Regions from separate parts of the Homo sapiens genome. Here region 1 is linked to region 2. Evidence: promoter capture Hi-C in 16 types of primary human blood cells and fetal thymus (Javierre and others, 2016). All regions are on one chromosome and are shown on one strand. Each heading gives the region's core, a stretch centred on a gene start or on the middle of the fragment in contact. The rest is flanking DNA. Distances are from core to core; before and after follow the strand shown.

What was found. Contacts are between HindIII fragments. The CHiCAGO score rates a contact against its expected background, and 5 or more counts as called.
Region 1: a contact is called between a fragment that was not itself captured here and the fragment with the promoter of ATP11A in region 2, in 1 of 17 cell types (monocytes). The highest score is 6.6, in monocytes.

What each region holds. Positions count from the first base shown.
Region 1 is chr13:113,491,455-113,494,300 of GRCh38, forward strand. The region is part of intron 1 of SLC9D1 (solute carrier family 9 member D1); the gene reads left to right. It also overlaps a transcript of DCUN1D2 not described here. Among named protein-coding and RNA genes, the nearest start is that of SLC9D1, 1.9 kb to the left of the region's middle. The HindIII fragment of the contact is 1,447 bases long and covers 554-2,000 here.
Region 2 is chr13:112,688,788-112,691,487 of GRCh38, forward strand. ATP11A (ATPase phospholipid transporting 11A) reads left to right here and starts at 1,251. Exons shown (of 30, transcript NM_015205.3): 1 at 1,251-1,668. The coding sequence starts at 1,630. LOC102725228 (a long non-coding RNA gene) reads right to left here and starts at 1,028. Exons shown (of 2, transcript NR_187633.1): 1 at 876-1,028; 2 at 1-82. RefSeq lists an enhancer at 88-605 and silencers at 854-1,783, 1,804-2,043. The HindIII fragment of the contact is 3,702 bases long and covers 1-2,700 here.

The DNA.
Region 1 (2,846 bases), core at 27-2,526, 800 kb after region 2:
CCATTCCCTTCTTCCCTTCCCAGGGGTCCCCTTCCTTCCTTCCCTCCCTCCCTGGGGCTCCCCTCCTCTCTCTCCCTCCCTGGGGCTCACCTCCCCTCTCTCTCTCCTCGGGGCTCCCCTTTTCTTGCAGGTATTGTCTCCCGGGGTCGGGTGGTCTGTGTGGCCTGGGGTCCCGCTCCTCCAGGCCTTGCCTAGGCGCTCTTCGCTGAGGCCCACGTTCTAACCTGGAATGGAACCTGCGTTCCCACCCTGGCCGCCCGGGTGGACTCGGGGCCTCCAGGGCCGGCCGCAGAGATGCAGCCCTGTCCCTGGCCCCCCTCCTGTGACTCCTAACGGCTCCTCACGGTGTCCATGACCCAGGGTGTGGACGCCTGCGCGGGGGAAGCAAGACCGCTGCGTATCGGGTCCCTATTCACTGCCTGTTTTTCTGATTATTCTGTCTTCCAAATTTATCTTATTTACCGGCTTTTTCAAAAGGAGTGTCTTAATGATTGGATTACTTGTGAAATATTTGTAGTTTTTTTCTCCTACAGGCTTGACTTAAATATTCTAAAGCTTTTTTGTGGTTGTTGAGACAGAGTTTTGCTGTCGCCCAGGCTGGAGTGCAGTGGCTGGTCAAGGCTCAAGCGATTCTCCCGCCTCAGCCTCCCCAGGAGCTGGGGCCACAGGGAGCATCACGCCCGGCTAATTATTTCATTTTTAATAGAGACAGGGTCTTGCTGTGTTGCCCAGGATGATCTCCAACTCCTGACCTCAAGCAGTTCGCCCACCTCAGCCTCCCAGAGCGCTGGGAATACAGATAATTGTGTCGTAATACAGCAGTGGCATTAACCACCGCACCTGGTCTTAGGTAGAATTTGAAAACCTTTTTATTTTGAGATGGTTGTAGATCACATGAAGTTGTAAGGAGTAATACAGAGAAATCCTACAGAGTGCCTTTGCCCTGTTTTCTCCAATGGTAGCACCTTGCAAAACCATAGTATATGTGGGGAATTTTCTTTGATCAAATCCCCTGACCTGTTGAGATTGCACCAACTATACATGCACTAGTGAGTGTGAATCTACACCTGTGTGTCTTCTCAATAAAATTGAGATTTTTTTTCACTCAGCCTTGAGATACATCCGCATTGTTATGTGTATCAATTGCTCAAGATGCAGAAATTCTAAGAATTCATTATTTAAAAAGTAATCCCAGCACTTTGGGAGGCTGAGGTGGGTGGATCACCTGAGGTCAGGAGTTTGAGACCAGCCTGGCCAACATGGCAAAACACCGTCTCTACTAAAAATACAAAAATTAGCTGGGTGTGGTGGCGAGCGCCTGTAATTCCAGCTACTTGGGAGGCTGAGGCAGGAGAATTGCTTGAACCCGGGAGGCAAAGGTTGCAGTGAGCTGAGATCACAACACTGCACTCCAGCCTGGGTGACAAGAGCAAAACTCCGTCTCAAACAGCAACAACAACAAAAAAAACACATTACAGGAATCCAAAGTGTCTTTTTAATAACTAGAACAGCTAAAGATGTTTACTAATTTGCTCAAAAAACATGCTACAATTTAGTAGTCAGTAGGATTTTGGAGGCAAGTTTGAAGATAAAATGAAATGAGTTTGAATAAAGGTGATTTGTATTTTAAGGGTCCATAAATAATTTCAGTTTCATGTTATGAGTATGTTTCAGTGGGAAATTTTAGTATAACTACAACTAAAATCCTCAAAGGTTTCTCATAAAAATTATAGCTCCCTTAGAGGGACAACTAATTTTAGGAACCTGATTGAGGAAGGAACCAGAAATGAACATAGAGGTGTCATTCACACATGAGCTGTGTTGAAACTTATTTTTCTGAAGCATAAAATCCATCAAAGAATCACTTTTTGGGATCTTTTGGGGAAACTGGGAAGTGTAAGCAAAGCATCTCAGATTTCTGTCTTGGTTCTGGAAAATACTAAAAGTTCACTTGTGAAGTAGCTGTTGATTTATTTAGCTCCGTTGGACCAACCGAGAGAAGCTTAGCAGTTGAGTGAGTCATTAAAATAACAGCTCAGCTATATGGCTAGGCATGACTAAGTGATTGCCTCATTGTTTGTTTTTAAGGTGGTAAATGTGTACTTAAAGTTGTACACGTGTACTTAAAGTTGTATTGAAACTAACATAAAATTGAGTGATTGGAACAGCACATTATCATTTATCCTATCTTGTTAGGAAGTTACCTGTTCTAGGTAAGTGAATTCTCTGTGGAGTGTGCTTCTCCTTTTGGGAGTCAGTCTCCAAGAATGTTTTGAATTGAACACTTTCTAACCAGAATATAGTCTTTTCTTGGTGACTTTTGCTTGTAATTCTGATCAGTACTGTTGTCTAACACAGTACTGTCTTCAGGACCTGCTGGGGTGCAGACAGTCGCTGAGCCTTCACCGAGTCATCTGGCCTCCAGGCTTTTTTAGTTCTCCTGTTTGTTTTGCATAAGGTTTGTCTCTTTCTGTGGCTGCCATTTCATGGTTTGGGCAGAATGCTGCCTCCAGAAATGCTGCCCTTACTTTTGCTGCATCTAACCTACTTTGCCTGGGAAACTCGATTAAACCAATTAGAATTTGGGTTAGCAGTGAAATGAAAGTATAGATATATAGATACATCTTTTAGTAACCAGGTTTCCAGGTCGGGGAATCTTTGTAATATGTGATGGTTGAGTAGGAATTCCTGAGTAACAGTCCATTGGATGCTGCTATGAAGAATGGTTAGGTTAATATTTTGTTGTTGTTTACTTTAAACTGTAAATCTGCGTAAGTGGTAGGTGTTGGTTTTGTTGCCTTTTTTGGGATAGCTACTTGTGACTGGTGATCTCCTAGTGGCCAAAT
Region 2 (2,700 bases), core at 1-2,500:
CAGCAGGTTGTCCCTGTGGGTGAAGATCCACTGAGGGGGACCGCCAGCTTCCTGAGCACAGGGCAGGCCAGAGCAGGACAGGCTGGGATGGAAAATGAAGAATCAGTGCTTTAGCCGACAACAAATGGGAGCCGTTTACTGTTTAGTCACTATGATTAGTGTTCACTAGTACTCATTTCTCTTCGTCTAAAAAGTGGCCAACACCATCTCTTTTCCACAAGCACTCGGGAGAACATTCATATTCAATTGCCTTCCTAAGACCCAGACGGGGCAGCGCTCTCCACAGGCCACCAAAAGGTGTTGCCTGTTTGGTTTCATCAGTGATTATCTGTGGCAGCAAGACAGGAAGTTGGAAATCAAGTACCTCAATTAAGTCAAGGCTGACCGTGGAATTAGAGAACAAGTGTTTGTTACCCCGGCCAGGTCACCCTAGGGAAAACAGGCATTCTCCGGGATTGAAATGGTGGTGTTTGTGTGGTAAATAGTTCTCAGTCCAGTTCAAAGCCAGCAGCATTAAGGACACGCCACCGCCACCGGGAGCTGGAGACCAGGCGAAGCTGAGCTCCTCTGTGGTTCACCAACCCCTCAGGCCGCCTAAGTGTCTTCTGCTGTCGCAGCTTTGGGGACAGAGGGGTTTCGGAAACAGGGGCCTCTTGTCTGCACCCTCCCCTCCCACTGACAGGCTGGCAGCCCAGGGCAGCCACCTGAGGAGCGTCCCTGTGTCTCTCCATCTGCAGAGCAGGAAAAGCCTGCGGGTCGGTGGCGCCACGCTGGGGCGAGACCCAGCTTCGGCTCAGGAGATCTCCCACCCAGCCGGACTCCCGCTCTCTGCCCGCGGCCCCCTCCCACACTCCCACCTCGCCCCGCGATCTCACTGCCCCATCGAGGCTTCCGGGCGGAGGAGAAAAGTTTTCCGGCAGGAACCCGGGAAGGAAGCCCTGGGACCCTGGCTGAAACTCCGGGTTTCCCCAGTGCCGAGTCCCTTCCCCGCCGCGCCCAGCGCCTGCGCCCCGGGAGGCGGAAGCAACAGGGGGGTTCCTCCCCGCGGCCTCTGACCTCTGCCCTCTGCCCTCTGCCCCCAGGGTCTGGGGCCCGGGCGGAGGCGCGAGGGGGCAGGGCCGGCGCGCGGGTGCGAGCGCGGGTGTGGGCGCGGGGCCGGCGGGGGCTGCGGCCGCGGGGCGCATGCTCACTTGCGCCGGTGACGTGCGCGCCCGGAGCAGGGGCAGGAGCCAGCGGGGCCCGGAGGCTCCAGAGGGCGGCGGGCAGGGGAGGAGGAGACTCGGGAGGAGCAGAGCGCAGGCTCCGCCGCGGCCGGGGTGCTCCAGCCGAGCCCAACCGAGCGGGCGGACCGACGGGGAGAGAGAAGGCGCCAGAGCGCGCGCGCGCGGCCCCGAGCAGCAGCCTTGCCGCCAGTGGAGCAGCTGCCGACGCGCGGGGCCGCGGACCCAGCATTCGCCGGCCGGGCCGGGCATGAGCGCGGAGGGGCCGCGGCCGCCCCCTGCACCGCCCGGCGCGCCGAGGCCGTGACCGGAGCGGGGGGCGCGGCCGCACTAGTACCCCGGAGCCCATGGGCGCGCCGAGCCGGGCGCGGGGGCGCTGAACGGCGGAGCGGGAGCGGCCGGAGGAGCCATGGACTGCAGCCTCGTGCGGACGCTCGTGCACAGATACGTGAGTGCTCCCGGCGCGGGCTGGGGGACCCGGGGACCAGACAGACGCGGGCCGGCCCCGCAGCCCGGACCCTGTGGCCGGTCCAGCCCCGGGGTCCCGGGAGGTCTCCGATGTCTGGGACTCGGACCGCCCCCGGGGACGAGCGGGATGCTGGGGAGGGGCCTCGGAGTTGACACCCTGGGGCTTCCGACGGGGTCTAGGTGGGCACAGCGCGGGGCCCCAGCCCCGGGCGGCCACCTGCTCCCTGGCCGCGGCCGCCTGGCGCCCCCTTCCCGCCCGCAGCGCCCTGGGGGTCCCTCGGAGAGGCTGGCTGGGGTTCGAGCTGTCCCGGCGGACCGGGCGCCCGGAGGGAGCCAACTTCGACCCCGCCGGGGCCCGGGTCTGGGGAGGAACCTTCAGATGCGGCTTCCGCGCAGCCGTGTCTGTAAGATTAAGGGATTGGGAGGAAGCGTTACACTTCTGCAGAAAAAGGTAGCAATTGTGTTTGTTCTTTAACACCCCTGGGGGATTCAGAAGCGGAGTTTGGAATCTTTTTATTTTTTACCTTAAAGTAACCAATTAGATCAGAAGTCCGGGGTCTTCTTGGGTTCCTCTGGAATTTGCCCCTTCAGTGATAAGCAAGTGAAGAGCTCAGGAGGGAAGACTCGGAAGGGGAAAAGTTGATTTTGTTTTACACCAGAGGAGGGGAAACCGGAATCCCTGGCGTTAGGTGTAAAAAGGGGTGTGTGGCCGGGCGCGGTGGCTCACGCCTGTAATCCCAGCACTTTTGGAGGCCGAGGCGGGCGGATCACGAGGTCAGGAGTTTGAGACCAGCCGGACCGACATGGTGAAACCCCGTCTCTGCTAAAAAATACGAAAATTAGCCGGGCGTGGTGGTAGGCGCCTGGGATCCCAGCTACTCAGGAGGCTGAGGCAGGAGAATCGCTTGAACCCGGGAGGCGGTGGTTGCAATGAGCCGAGATCGAGCCACTGCACTCCAACCTGGGTGACAGAGCGAGACTCTGTATCAAAAAAAAAAAAAAAAAAGGGTGT